Linked DNA regions of Homo sapiens: all the other regions are linked to region 1. The links are contacts of gene promoters, found by promoter capture Hi-C in blood cells and fetal thymus (Javierre and others, 2016). All regions are on one chromosome and are shown on one strand. Each heading gives the region's core, a stretch centred on a gene start or on the middle of the fragment in contact. The rest is flanking DNA. Distances are from core to core; before and after follow the strand shown.

Evidence for each region. The method cuts DNA at HindIII sites, captures the fragments that hold promoters and counts their contacts. A CHiCAGO score of 5 or more calls a contact.
Region 2: a fragment that was not itself captured here is called in contact with the fragment with the promoter of APMAP in region 1 in 3 of 17 cell types (total B cells, monocytes and fetal thymus); the score reaches 7.0 in total B cells.
Region 3: a contact is called between a fragment that was not itself captured here and the fragment with the promoter of APMAP in region 1, in 1 of 17 cell types (monocytes). The highest score is 5.2, in monocytes.

Annotation. Positions count from the first base shown.
Region 1 is chr20:24,989,953-24,994,761 of GRCh38, forward strand. APMAP (adipocyte plasma membrane associated protein) reads right to left here and starts at 2,799. Exons shown (of 9, transcript NM_020531.3): 1 at 2,642-2,799. The coding sequence starts at 2,736. RefSeq lists enhancers at 2,352-2,852, 2,411-2,470, 2,491-2,570, 2,701-2,940, 2,853-3,353. The HindIII fragment of the contact is 12,703 bases long and covers 1,757-4,809 here.
Region 2 is chr20:25,408,419-25,413,227 of GRCh38, forward strand. The region is part of intron 1 of GINS1 (GINS complex subunit 1); the gene reads left to right. Among named protein-coding and RNA genes, the nearest start is that of GINS1, 3.2 kb to the left of the region's middle. RefSeq lists an enhancer at 1-401. The HindIII fragment of the contact is 5,539 bases long and covers 1-4,809 here.
Region 3 is chr20:25,320,916-25,325,724 of GRCh38, forward strand. ABHD12 (abhydrolase domain containing 12, lysophospholipase) reads right to left here. Exons shown (of 13, transcript NM_001042472.3): 3 at 2,410-2,515. Among named protein-coding and RNA genes, the nearest start is that of ABHD12, 68 kb to the right of the region's middle. The HindIII fragment of the contact is 3,606 bases long and covers 1,078-4,683 here.

The DNA.
Region 1 (4,809 bases), core at 1,549-4,048:
GAGAATTATACAGAATTTAATGTATTGAAACATATTAAATCCTCAATGTATTTATTCTGCATCCCTAAACAGTCACATATGGACATTAAACAGTTCTCTTCCTAGATAGAACTGTGTTTCAAACAGAAAGGAATAGTTCCACAGAGTACAATTAAGTTTCTAAAGCATTTCGGGAAATCAATGTCAAATAATAATTATAAGCTTGCACCGGTATGTTAAAGTACTTAGCTCATCTATGTTCCACACTGAATAAAAGAATTTACCAACCAAATTCTCCATTATATTTCAAATACAGTAATTCAAGAGCTTTGGCATAAAGTCTTATTTCCAAAGCATAATTTTAAAAATACACTTCTCAGTCATTGTCCAGCTGCCAGTTCTATCCTTCTTCATTCATTTTCATTTCTCTTTTGACTCTATTCTCTGTAACTTCATATAAACCACCTCACACACATAGACCTCAATGATCTCATCAGCAAAACAAAGCAAACACCCACCTTTTGTGCCAAGAGTTGGGAGACCACCCAACGTATTACTAGGGGTCCCTACCACTGCTAAAATCTATGTCTTAGTTCTGTCAGTTTAGTAATATGTCTTTCAAGGCTTCCTTTATTCTATTTAGCACATCTAAAGTGCTAAAGTTTATTCTAATAGTTTCGTGTTTTTACTTCTGAATTTAGATTCCTTTACTTCGCCCACTATACACAGGCTTTCCTGGCTTATGTTGAACCCTCGACTTTTAAGGTAATCAAGAATACTATTACATGAACTACTAGAAATGACCACAAAATAAATGAAAAATATAGGAGAAATGCAGAAGAAAAATAAGAAAAACAGCTACCATGTTACAATAATAATTGCGGAAAGGAAGGGTGGTGACAAGACCTCACTTTGAAAGAGATCATTACAGATATACAGAAAAGGGATAAACAAACAAGAAGGACAAACACAGGGAAACAGGAACAATGTTCATGGACAGGGAAGTCAAGGAAATAAGTAAACATAAATGTAAAAGGCACACTGGAAAAGATCAGGCAGTAAAAGATGACTTTAGAATCAGATTTACTTACTCATTAAGGAAGAAATCCCCACAGAGAACCTGAAAAAAACAATTAAGTCTGCCTGCTTGCCCTGGGGCCAGAAGTGTGAGCCAGCCAACTTGAGAGTTGGGACTACCTAACCGGTGCCCTCAGGGGCTGTAGGCCCTGGTTTTCAACACACTGCACCTAATGACAAACTCAGGCCACTGCTCTTCCATTTCTCAGGTAAAAATGCCTTGTTTTCAAGATTTCTGTAGGAAAGTGTTGCCAATTCTTGCATGTCCATTCTAAATGGCTCCTCAATCATCAACAGATGATTAATTCACAATATTCACAGTAAGTAGGGTGATCAGATTGTCCCAGTTTGCCCAGGTTTAGCACTGAAAGTTCTACATCCTTGGAAACCCCAGTCCAGGGCAACGCAGGATGGTTGGTCAGGATATATGGGAGCATCTTCCCGATCTTTTCACTGGCCCAAGGAGTCAACTATCACCGCAAAGTCTTCTCTCTAAATTGCCTCTCTAGAGCCTAAATGCTCCTTCCTGCCATCGCTCTCCTTCAAATGTGTTCCTCTTATCATCAGTCAATAAACTCAGTCTACAGGGGCAAAAACTGCCTCTCATTCATATGTACCCCACCACCTCTTGGCACACTACTGATGAACAAATATTTCCAGTATTTCTATCAAATATAAGTCAATCAGTCCCACAACTTCAAGCTTGGTCTATGGGGCCTCTTGATTCTCCCTGAAACTTAAAAGTTATGAAATTCAGGACACAGAATTGAAAAGTGAATTTTAAGTATCTTATATTGAAATCTATGCTTACGAATCATGATTCAGTTTTTAGCTAACAAAACACAGCATTCTTATATTCTGAAAGATGGGAGAGGAGGCAAAGGGCAAAACCTGATATTTCTTAGGTGTCAACAACTACAGTTTCCTATGTTTCTCCATCCCTATCAGGAAAAACTGCCAGGCTGAATTCTCACAAAAATTGCCTACAATGTCACTACTGTTCTCCACTCTTTCCAAGAACCGCGGTGAGGACTGGTCACGCAGCGTGAGGGGGGCAGGTGCAGAAGAGCAAGTGTAGAAGCCATCTCTTCGCCGGATAACGAGGCAGGACCCCAGCATCTCGTGGGACCTCCTCCCTTCGGGAAATTGCGAGCGGGGAACCAGGAACACGCAGGGCCCCGGCCAAGTAGCTGTGCTCAGGGGGATCATTTAAGCCAAAGGAAGGACAGCGCGAGGGGAGCGAGGGAAAGGCGAGGAAGCAACCGCTATGCAGGGTGGGGCAGGAGTGAGGGAGGGAAGGCAAAGGAGCGGCGCGAGGCGGTCTCGGGTCCGGAGAGCCGAGGACAACGCGGCGACTGGGCGCAGGGTGCACCCGAACCTGAAAGACCTGGCAGGTACATCCGCCTTGTCGGAGCCTGCTTCCTCGGAAAAATGAGTTTTTCTTGGGGATGAAACGAGAGGACTCTGACAACGCGCTCGGCACCGCATCCCCAGGTTACTGTTACTGCCGTCGCCGCTGTCCAAGAGGGTCGCCCTCCACTCCTAGCGGCCCGGCTCCAGCGCCCAGTCTGGGAGTCCGCCCTACCTGCCGTCCTTAGCCTCCGGGGCCTGGCCATCATCGTCTGTGACGACCTGCGGCCGCAGGGGCCGGCGCTGTCGCAGCCCGTCCGCCTCGCTCATGGTACGGGCGCCAGCCTCACCCGCAGAAACCACCTCACACTGAGCGGCGCCGGCTCAGACTCCAGGCCCGCCCTCCCCCGTACGCGGAAATGACGTTGCGCCCAGGGACCATTCCGCAGCGTTCTCCCCGCCCCTTCCGGCCTCATGGGCGGGAGGTCCCCGGCGCGTCGTTGCTCGGCGCTCTGAGGCTAATTCTGACCGCCCGGAAGTGGGGCTCGGAACCCGCTCAGAGATAGCACCGGGAGCTGCCGGGGTCCCCGCCTGTCTCGGACTCCGGGGCCCAGAACGCGAGTGGTTCAACCTCGGGCTCGTCTAGCCCAGTGCCTGCGCATGCCGCCTTCGTCTCACGTTTCTGAGGACGGGGATGCTCATGACGCACTTGGGAATTGCTAGCACGAGATGTTGGCCACTTTTATCGTTGGAGAGGATAGCGCTGTTTATTCAGTGTCAGCGACCCTGCTCTTACAGGCAGCGTCAAAAATAATGCATTCACACCCTTGGAACGAAGTCACCTCTGCCTGAAAATTACATCCTTCCCCGACTCAGCCGGTTAAGGGGAAAACTTGGGCTAGAAAATGTTTCCCTCTGGTTAAGGCCAGATGTTGAGTATTAAATCTTTTTGTGACGATTACAACAGACATTTGATAAAGTTTATTAAGTTTTGATAAAGTTTATTAAGTTTTGATAAAGTTTATTAAGGATTACCCTTAAGTAAAGTCCAGGTAGAAGTAGAAATTATCACTAACAAAGTTTAAGAAAGCATAGAGAGGCATTGTTCTTTCAACAGTATTGCAGGAAACCAGAAATGTTCCCAGGTGCTGGGAGACGATGGTGGGCAAATCACAGACAAGGCCCCTCCTTATAGAAATTAAACTAGTGGGAAAGATGACTTTAATCAGATCATCATCATAAAATAGACGTAAAATTATCAAACGTAATAATTGCTTCAAAAGGGAAGAGCTGAATCTTGTGAGAGCATTTGAGATTCAAAGAGGAATCGAATCTGGAGGAAGTGACAGGCAGAAGAAATCAAAGCCCGTTACCAGTGGCACGAGGAATTATCTCTGGAAAAGCCATGTTCAAAATGCAGTGTTAAGAAATAATTTCCTCTTGGAGGCTTTTACCTTTTTAAATGCTAGATGGCACTAGAATTCCATGTGAATGCTTTTTATTTATTCATTCAAAGAGCGGAAGAACCAGCTTGAGGGAAGTGGAGAGCTGTGCAAATCCAGTTCTCCAGAGATCCCAGGTAATAATTCAGGCCTCGACAACATTTTACTTCATTCTGTGTCATTGAGAATAGCCAATACAGCTATTAAATCAGGGATAGTGTTAACAAAGTACTGTATGATCTCACGCCTTCCTGCCTGTCTGGACTATCCCTCTTGCTCCCCACCCCCCATTTCAGACATTCAGGATGGCTTAACATGTCTAATCTCATGCCTGGCTGCCTTTGTCCTTGAGGTTCCTTCTTCCTGTGATACACTCTCCTTCACCTCCACTTGGCCAATTATTTTTATCATTCAGGACCCACTTCAAGTATCCTTGCTGAAAATTCTTCTCCCAGTTTCCCAAGCAGAACATCTTCCTCTTTGTCTTCAAGGCACTTTAAACATGTCCCAGCCATAACATTGAACTCACTGCATTGGAGCTATTTGTGTTCCATGCCCAGTGTTAAAGCCCACGCACTGCAAACACCCAGGGACACATTCAGAAGAAAAATAATGGCAGTAAGTTGGGTTTACTGAACTTGCTGCAGCAAAGAAATGCACCAGAGGACCGGTGAGGTTCCTCAAAATGGGGGAGTCATGGGAGACTCCTTGTGGGGTTTGGGGGCTGGAGTTAGTCCATCGATAGTCTTGCCCAGGGTTGGTCAGAATCCGTTAACAACGGGAGTCACTGGAGGAACCGTGGCCTTAGCTCTGGGACATGTAAGTCCATTCGGAGTTATCAGGAGGTCAGCTCGTGGGCTTATCATGAAGCACGTAGGTAGTTGGTGTTACAGTGGTCTGAGCTAGATCATTTGTGCTGCATAGCACGGGTTCAGTACAGTTTTTCTGTTTTCAAGTCACG
Region 2 (4,809 bases), core at 1,387-3,886, 420 kb after region 1:
GGGCTGAGTCAGTGTTAGCTATTAATATTACTTTTCTCCTGCTGCTGCTGTTACTATTAATATTATGATTATTTGTATTTTTCTATCACTGCTACCCCAGGGAGAGTGCTAAGCACTTCATGTACATTATCTTTTGTCTTTCTAATAACCCTTTGAGGGCCCGGTACCATGGCTCCTGCCTGTAATCCCAGCACTTTGGGAGGCTGAGGCGGGAGGATCGCTTGATCCTGCCACTGCATTCCAGCCTGAGTGACAGGGAGACCCTGTCCCAAACAAAACAAAAATAACTTTTTGATGTTTAAACTATTGTTTTCTACTTTTTTCAGCTATATATGCATAGGATTGGGGAGATTTAAGTATATTGCCTAAGGTGACACAGCAAGAAAGCTAGGATTTGAACCCTGGCACTCTGGCTCCAGAGCCTGCACTCTAAATTGTATATTTCACTTACGTCATAGAGCAGGCATTATGTGGATGTCAGGACACATTCTGCTGGAAGATGGGCACAAAAACAGATAATAGAATTCACCACGCTAAGTGATACTAAGGAGGTATAGCAAGGAGCACGAAGGAGAAACACCAGTATGAGCTGGGGTAGAAGAGGTGATATATGAGCCTTTCCATCCTCAAGGATGAGGTTACTGATCTGAGAAGGAAGCGAGGCATCCCAGCCAAAGGATGCTGCAGCACAAAGTCACGTGGTCACACTGGAGAGGGTGACCAATAGGGCCTGTGGGGAGTCTAGGAAGGTGGCTCACAGCCTACATGAATTTGTTGTTCACTTATAAGGCATGCTGGGAGCTGGTAGAGGATTTTAGACAAGGAAGTGATAGGGTAATTTTTGTGTTTTGAAGGTAACTGCGGCAGCAATATGGGGAATGGATTGAAGAGAGGAAAGAATGGGACAGGGAGATGGCTACTGGGTGGCTGATAGAGCAGGTGAGAGGTGTGTGGTCTGAACTGTGTCAGGTCAGTGGCACTGAGATCAGTGTTTGGGTTTTAGAGACATGAAGCAAACATGACTTGTAGCTATTAGAGCAGGGGCAGAGATGGGGTCCATAATGAATAAGAGGGAGGAATTGGGATCTTGGAGGATCCTTAGGAAACTGGGTAAACAACATCAGAGTTCAGGAGATAGAGTGTGTTGGGAAAGGTAATGAGTTTTGTTTTGAACACTAAAGAGCACCTAGCCAGACAATTAGATTGTCTTACAAATGAAGAAACTGAGCTGACACAAATTATGGGTCAAGTTAAGGAACTCGTCTGAATTTACAGCATATTGGAGGTAGAGCTTCAACTTGAACACAGGTTTTCCAGTTTCTAGTCAATTGTTTTTTCAACTTCAGAGCAGTTACCTCATTTAAAAAGTTAGGCAGCAGTCTGCAGCTCAGTAGAGATGCTTGAATGCAGAAGTGTGTAAATGCTAAAATGTGGCCTGAGAACTAGGAACTTTAGAGGTCATTGTACATATCAGGACACAGGCCTAGAGAACAGAGAGACTGTGCAAACAGGTGCGGCCAAGCTGGATTTTGGACCTGACTCTGACACTTAGTTTAGCTCTCTGTTTTACTCAAATTTTAAGTTAAGTGTTGGGTTATCACTTTGTGGGGCTAGGGGCTGGTCTTAGAAGTTGTAGAATCAGGCCAGGAGTGGTGGCTCACGCCTGTAATCCCCCCACTTTGGGAGGCTGAGGCGGGCGGATTACAGGGTCCTGAGATTGAGACCATCCTGGCTAACATGGTGAAACCCCGTATCTACTAAAAATACAAAAAATTAGCCAGGCGTGGTGGGATGTGCCTGTAGTCCCAGCTACTCGGAAGGCTGAGGCAGGAGAATGGCTTGAATCTGGGAGGCGGAGGTTGCAGTGAGCCAAGATCGGGTCACTGCACTACAGCCTGGGCGACAGAGAGAGACTCCGCCTCAAAAAAAAAAAAAAGTTGTAGAATCACTGTCTTGTAGGTCTTAATTTGGTGGAGCACCTTTTGTCTCACTAGTGCCTTCCACTGACAAACCCACCTGATACTCAAGGTGATCCAGCAGCCTGGAACACTTAGTCAGCCTGCAGAGGCTGGCCTCCGACTCAGCGGCACAGAGGAAGGCTGACAGTGGATCTGAGAGGCCCAAGGACCACACAGGCTTTTCTCTTTTTTTTATTGTTTTGAGATGGGAGTTTCGCTCCTGTGGCCCAGGCTGGAGTGCAATGGTGTGATCTCGGCTCACTGCAACCTCCGCCTTCTGGGTTAAGCAATTCTCCTGCCTCAGCTTCCCTAGTAGCTGGGATTACAGGCGCCTGCCACCATGCCCAGATAATTTTATGTATTTTTAGTAGAGATGGGGTTTCACTATTTTGGCCGGGCTGGTCTCGAACTCCTGACCTCAGGCGATCCACCCACCTCAGCCTCCCAAAGTGCTGGGATTATAGGCGTGAGCCACCGTGCCCGGCCCAACACACAGGCTTTTCTTCTGGAATCACTCATGGTTAAGCGCTGTGTTCAGCAAACAGAAAAGTGATTACACCCTTTCTATATGCAGAATTGATACTTTTTTTAAAAAGTACATTTTTAAGAAAGTTAGGCCAAGCATGGTGGCTCATGCCTGTAATCCCAGCCACCACTTTGGGAGGTCAAGGTGGAAGGAACACTTGAGCCCAGGAGTTCGAGACTAGCCTGGGCAACATAGTGAGACCCCATTTTTACAAAAAATAGAATTAGCTGGGTGTGGTGGCACACACCTGTAGTCCCAGCAACTTAGGAGGCTGAAGTGAGAGGATTGCATGGCTCCAGGAAGTTGAAACTGCAGTGAACTGTGGTCACGCTATTACACTCCAGCCTGGGTGACAGACTGAATCCCTGTCTCAAAAAGGAAAAGGTAAGAAAATTACCTTGGGCTCAGGTAGAAGTCATGCTTGCATTTTCCATCAGGAATTACATCTTTTGAGCAGAGTTGAGTAGTTGATTTTGGAATTGTGCCATTTGTATATGCCACAGCATTTTTGCCAACACATATATTTTGGCCCTAAAAATAGACAGTGAAAAAGAGATGGGATTGCTTCTCTTTCGATTGTTGGCAGACCTATTGGGTAACATTTAATCATTTTGGGCTGGACACGGTGGCTCCTGCCTGTACTCGCAGCACTTTGGGAGACCATGGCAGGCGGATCACTTGAGGTCAGGAGTTTGAGAGCAGTGTGGCCAACATGGCGAAACCCTGTCTCTACCAAAAAAAAAAAGATTACAAAAATTAGCCAGACTTGGTGGCTTACACCTGTAATCCTAGCACTTTGGGAGGCTGAGGTGGGTGGATTGCCTGAGGTCAGGAGTTCGAGACCAACCTGGTGAACATGGTGAAACCCTGTCTCTACTAAAAATACAAAAATTAGCTGGACGTGATGGGCACCTGTAATCCCAGCTACTTGAGAGGCTAAGGCAGGAGAATCATTGCTTGGACCCGGGAGACGGAGGTTGCAGTGAGCCAAGATTGCACCATTGTACTCCAGCCTGGGTGACAAGAACAAAACTCCGTCTCAAAAAAAAAAAAAATTAGCTGGGCATTGCTGGTGCACACCTGTAGTCCCAGCTACTCGAGAGGCTGAGGCAAGAGAATCACTTAAACCTGGGAGGCAGAGGTTGCAGTGAGCTGAGATCGCACTACTGCACTCCAACCTGGGCCACAGAGTGAGACTTCATCTCAACAACAACGAAAAAAATCAGAATTCTAATGTTTTATTTTTCCAAGGGAAAATTTGCCCGAAACTGGATACTAGAAAAACTCCTATGGCCGGTTTTTGCAGTGCAAACCAAAAACACTATTCCTTTTTCTTTCTTTTGGTATTAACCTTTTAAGATCACTTTTAAGCTGGGCCCAGTGGCTCATCCCTGTAATCCCAGCACTTTGGGAGGCTGAGGCGGGTGGATCACCCGAGGTCAGGAGTTCAAGACCAGCCTGGCCAATATAGTGAAACCCCGTCTCTACTAAAAATACAAAAAATTAGCCAGGCGTGGTGGTGGGCGCCTGTAATCCCAGCTACTCGGGAGGCTGAGACAGGAGAATTGCTTGAACCCAGGAGGCAGAGGTTGCAGTGAGCCGAGATTGCACCATTGCACTCCAGCCCAGGCGACAGTGTGAGACTCCATCTAAAAAAAAAGACCATTTTTTAGTAAATTATGAATTATTTACATATTTTTCTTTATACCTCATGCTTCAGTAGGACGATTGATATCTTTGTTCGTCAATTTTATTGATGTATAATTTACATACAACATGTGTATTTTAATAGATTTTTGAATTTTGACTAATATGTACATCTTTATAACCAGCACCCTGATCAAGATTTCTGTAATTATCAAAATATCTCATATAACCCATAAATATACATACCTACTGTGTACCCACAAAAATAAAAAAATTAAAAAAGATTTCTGTAACTTTGCCCCCCTTTTGTAGCTACCTCCCACCTATAGCCTTAGGCAACCATGAATTTGCTTTCTCTGACTACAGATGATATTATTCTTTTTGGCAAACTTTTCCTGTGAAGGGCCAGAGGGAATCATTTCATGTAAACTCTTGTGTCAGGCATCTCTTGCTCAGTATAACGTATTTCAGATTATCCTCATTGTTGTGTATGTTGTCAGTAGTTCATTTTTTTTTTTTTTTTCTTTGAGACGAAGTTTCGCTCTTGTTGCTCAGGCTGGAGTGCAATGGCATGATCTTGGCTCATTGCAACCCGGGTTCAAGCGATTTCCCCTGCCTCAGCCTCCTGAATAGCTGGGATTACAGCCTGTCACCACGCCTGGCTAATTTTTGTATATT
Region 3 (4,809 bases), core at 1,631-4,130, 330 kb after region 1:
CTTCAGAGAGATACTGAGGTTAATTTTAACTCAGGCCACATCGAATACTGTTAATCACTGGGGAGGGTCCAAATTAATCACTTTTCTGTAAAGCTTATTCAAATTCATTCTGGATACCAGTGACAAGAATCTTTAAAAAAATTTAATGGCCAACTTCTTATTTTCTAGATCTTAAGCTTCAGCATCTCATTTCTAACGTCTCTCTCTGATCCGTTCAAAAGGATCACTTTTGGGATGGTTCTAGTCACTATGATCATCACTCCCATACAGTTATAAATTTGAGGGATAGGACGTCACATTTTGAAGGTGCTGGGAGCAGATGTGCTTCCAGTAGCCAGCCGCCCCAAACCTGGGCTCCTGACAAAGAGCCAGGGAACTCCTAGCCAGCAGAGAAACCCATTCCTGGGCCTCTCCTCTCAGCAGACAGGCGATGGCCAGGCATGGCCAGGAATGGCCCCCAGGCTCCACTCTAGGCCTTGAGGCCCTCCTTTCAGGAAGCTGGTGGGAGGGTCTGATGAAGCGATGGTGGGGGCAGTTGGTGAGCTGGGCCTGCTGCTGCCTGAGGGCCCAATGTCATTGTGACTGCCTAGGGCATGAGAGTGGGCAGCAGCCGCACTCACCAACACGCACCCACCAACACACAGCAACACACAGCGTGGCTGTCACTGCCTTGACACTTGCCACTGACATCACTAAACAAAACCTTTTCTGGTAGCTGATAATGTATGCAGGAGTTGTTAGTACTTCCAGCCTAAGTCTCACCACCATAAACACCCTCCTGCAATAGGACAGACTCATGTTAACCAAGAAGAGGGCTGACCAAGTCCCACTCAGCAGCTCTGTGCAAAACAAGTCATGCTTCAGACAGAAACCTGAGGAGTCCCACAGTCACACATTGGTCAGTAAATGCTAGATTAAATCAAATCAGGAAGTGACAAAAGACTTTAATCCCAGCACCAACTACTAAGAACAAAAATCTCCCTTCTTGTTTTATGTTCTTTACCAAGGACCACTGTTAGAAATGTCTGAATGTTCTCTCATCCACACTGGGAAGCTACTCACAGCATTTCATTTAGAAGCTTCTCACATACACAGTGGTTTTCTGAGACAGTGGAAAGCGACGTTATGGCTACTGAAAAATAAATTCAGCTAGATAAAAGGGCTGTGATTCAGGCTCACTTCTCAGAGAAAAACGGAAATGCTACAGTGAGGTTGGTCAATTTTAATTCAGCTGTTCAGAAGCACCACTTGTGTACAGAAGAAAACATTAAAATGTATTCCAAGGAGACACAGAGAAGTCACAAGGCTTATGTCCAGTGTAAACTTATGGCTTAAAAAAGTAAATACTCAGAAGACAGCCAACACCATCATCATCAGCTGGTGCGAAGCTATATGTGAAAAGAAATCAAGCTGTTTTCAGTATCTAGATGTTCACCTCTTGGAAAAGATATATATATATATATATATTTTTTTTTTTTTTTGAGACAAGAGTCTCGCTCTGTTGCCCAGGCTGGAGTGCAGTGGCATAATCTCAGCTCACTGCAGCCTCTGCCTCCTGCGTTCAAGCAATTCTCTTGCCTCAAACTCCCGGGTAGCTGGGACTACAGGCGCGTGCCACCATGCCCAGCTAATTTTTGTATTTTTTTTTCAGTAGAGACGGGGTTTCACCATGTTGTTTAGGGTGGTCTCGAACTCCTGATCTCAAGTGATCCACCCGTCTCGGCCTCCCAAAGTGCTGGGATTACAGGCGTGAGCCACCGCGCCTGGATGGAAGATATATTCAAACCAGTGTTTGTGATTCTTCCCTTATATTCTCTTTTTTTTGGACACAGAGTCTTGCTCTGTCATCCAGGCTGGAGTGCAGTGGCGTGAACTCAGCTCACTGCAACTTCTGCCTCCTGGAGTCAAGTGATCCTCCTGCCTCAGCCTCCCAAGTAGCTGGGATTACAGGTGTGCACCACCATGCCTGGCTAATTTTTGTATTTTTAGTAGAGATGGGGTTTCACCTTGTCGCCAAGGCTGGTCTCAAACTCCTGGACTCAAGTGATCCACTTGCCTCAGCCTCCCAAAGTGCTGGGATTACAGGTGTGAGCCACTGTGCCGGCCACTTATATCCTGTTTCTAGCTTCTTTGTTTGCTTTTCGTTTTTCCTAGAAACAAGTCTCTCTAAAAATAATAATCTGTTCACAAAGCCTTTGCTGTTTTGAAAGGCTGGGAATAGAGTTTAAAGCCATTGAATCCCTCAACATTAGGATGGATCAAATGTACTGAGATCTTTCCTTTAGGAAAGGAAGAGGTGAAGATAAAAATGAACAACATTTCAGAGGCCAATGTCAAAGACAGCACCAGCTCAGTCATGTAGGGTCCTTTCCTGCTGCTGGAGGGGCTGCAGAGCTCACTGGCACTCACCAGACTCCAATGGTCACGTCTTCCTCTGGCTGCAGGTAGTAGTTACACGTGTGATTCAAACCTTGATCCTGTGGTTTTTTCAAATCAATGAAATAGGGAACTCTTACTGTAGGAAATAAAGAGATGGAAATTAGGATTACTGGTGGATGAATACACACATGTACACACAAACATGCATACTCACACACGTGCACAGATATGCATCCACACGTGCACACACACACATGCACACCCACATGCACACACTGCAGAAGCTCTCAGAAAGCACCAAGTCCTTTTCCTGTGCAATCTTACAATGGTGCCAGACCTGCAGGCCCAGCCTCAGGCAGGGTATGGGCTGAGGCCAGCCAGCATGGGCAGGGACAGAGACTGCAGTGAGGGCAAGGTCTGTGTAGAGACTGGAACGCTAAGGTCTAAGGTCATTCTAGGTGTGAGAAGATGCAAATGAGGGAAGGAAAGATCCCCAACAGGTCTGAAGGATGGGCCAGCCAGGAGGGAGGCTGGGGAGGCTGAGCCTGCGAATAACTCAGGTGCCTGGTGGAGTGGGAAGGACAGCAGGAAAGGGGATGGCGCTGCAGGACCTGATGACCAACGGAACGTTGGGTGGCAAACAAGGTAAAGGGGATTCCAAAGTTTCCAGGACTGCTGCCTAACACAGAAAAGACAGCAGAAGGTGAGGTGTGGGGCAGCGAGGGGGATGAATCCATAGGACCCATGCAGAGCAGAATGAAGTCAGTGCAATGGCCCAGCAGAAGTCCTGCATCTACCAGGTCATCTGCCAGCAGGACAGCGAGTGAATTAACCAGCACCTCACACTGTGGAAGACCATGGGGCCCTTAGACCTGGAGGAACCTCCAGGACCTGCGGGCAGATGAGAGGAGCAAGGTGACTGTGGGTGCGGGTGCGGTAGCCCCACTTTGTTATTGTAAAAACATGCAAATGAAACACGACCTCCACATGTGGCTGGGAGGATATACAGAAAGACAGAAGCCAGGCTGCTCACACAGCTTCAAAGTGTGTGTGTGGGGAGAATGGGGGCAATTTTTTCCTTATATACCATTGTAGTCTTACTGCTTTTGGTGAACACAACTTTAAAATAAGTTTAACTGAAAAACAAAAAATTTAAAATAAACGCATGAACCCTGAGGTGGGATTTGCCTGCTTTATAAAATGGCAACTCCCAAAAGAGGCAATGACAGAGAGCAGTGTGGGCCTGGCTTCCCTCTGGTGGGTCCTGCCCCCGGGGAAGCTCTGCTGCTGACAGCTGTCTCTGGTGAAGACAGGGGTTGCGTGACTCCCATGTCCATGTGGCACATTGCACATCTAGCCTCACTTCCTCAAATGTCACCAGGCTGGACTCACGAGGACATGGGGACATACACACTCCTTCCCAGAAACTCCCTGAGCGTCTGTCCCAGACCATGTGGGGAGACAGTTCCTACCACCAGGGCTGCTGTTCATACCCCACCTTCTTACTCCATCTCTTTCCCAGGAAGCAGATACATCTTCAAAATTTTAGTAAGAAGTTTCTCTCAAAATAAAAAATGGCAAAGGAGATGATCCACATCCCCATTAGCTCCAGCTGAGCCAGGCTGCACAGTCTCTGAGGCAAGCCACCACCATCACCATCTGATGGCTCCTATTAGATTGCCAGCTCACATGACGGAGCTGGATTTTTTGATACCAGCCTGGGCAACACGGCAAAACCCCACCTCTACAAAAAATATAAAAATTACCCAGGTAAGGTGACATGCACCTGTGATCCCAGCCACTTGTGAGGCTGAGGAGGGAGAATCACTTGAGCCCAGGAGGTCAAGGCTGCAGTAAGCCAAGGTTGTACCACTGTACTCCAGCCTGAGTGACAGAGAGACCCTGTTTCAAAAAAAAAAAAAAAAAAAAAAAAAAAGAACTGGCTTTGAACCCGGCAGCCCGGCTGCACAGCCCTGCCTCCTGGCTGGCTGGACAGGAAGTCAGGGAGGTAATGAGCCTGGCCCCTGAGAGGCCTGGGAGGCCCGCCTGCCCTGTTATGGGCTGAGTTGTGCTCCCCAAAAAAGACTATGTTCAAGGCCTCACCCCCAGTACCTAAGAGTGTGACCTTACTTGGAAACAGTGTCTTTATGGAGGTAATCAAGCTCAAATGAGGTCACTGGGTGGATACTAACCCAACATGACTGGTATCCTTATAAAATGGGGACATTTAGACACAGAGACAGAGGGAAGACCATGAGAAGATGACCAAGAAGATGGAGAAGATGGAGGCAGAGATTTGAGGGAAGCTTCTCCAAGCCGGGAATGCTGCCAGACAGACAGGCAAGAAGGGTCCACCTCAGCATCTCAGGAGGAGCTGGGCCCACCCACACCTCGACCTCAGACTCCCAGCCTCCACAACCATGAGAGGAT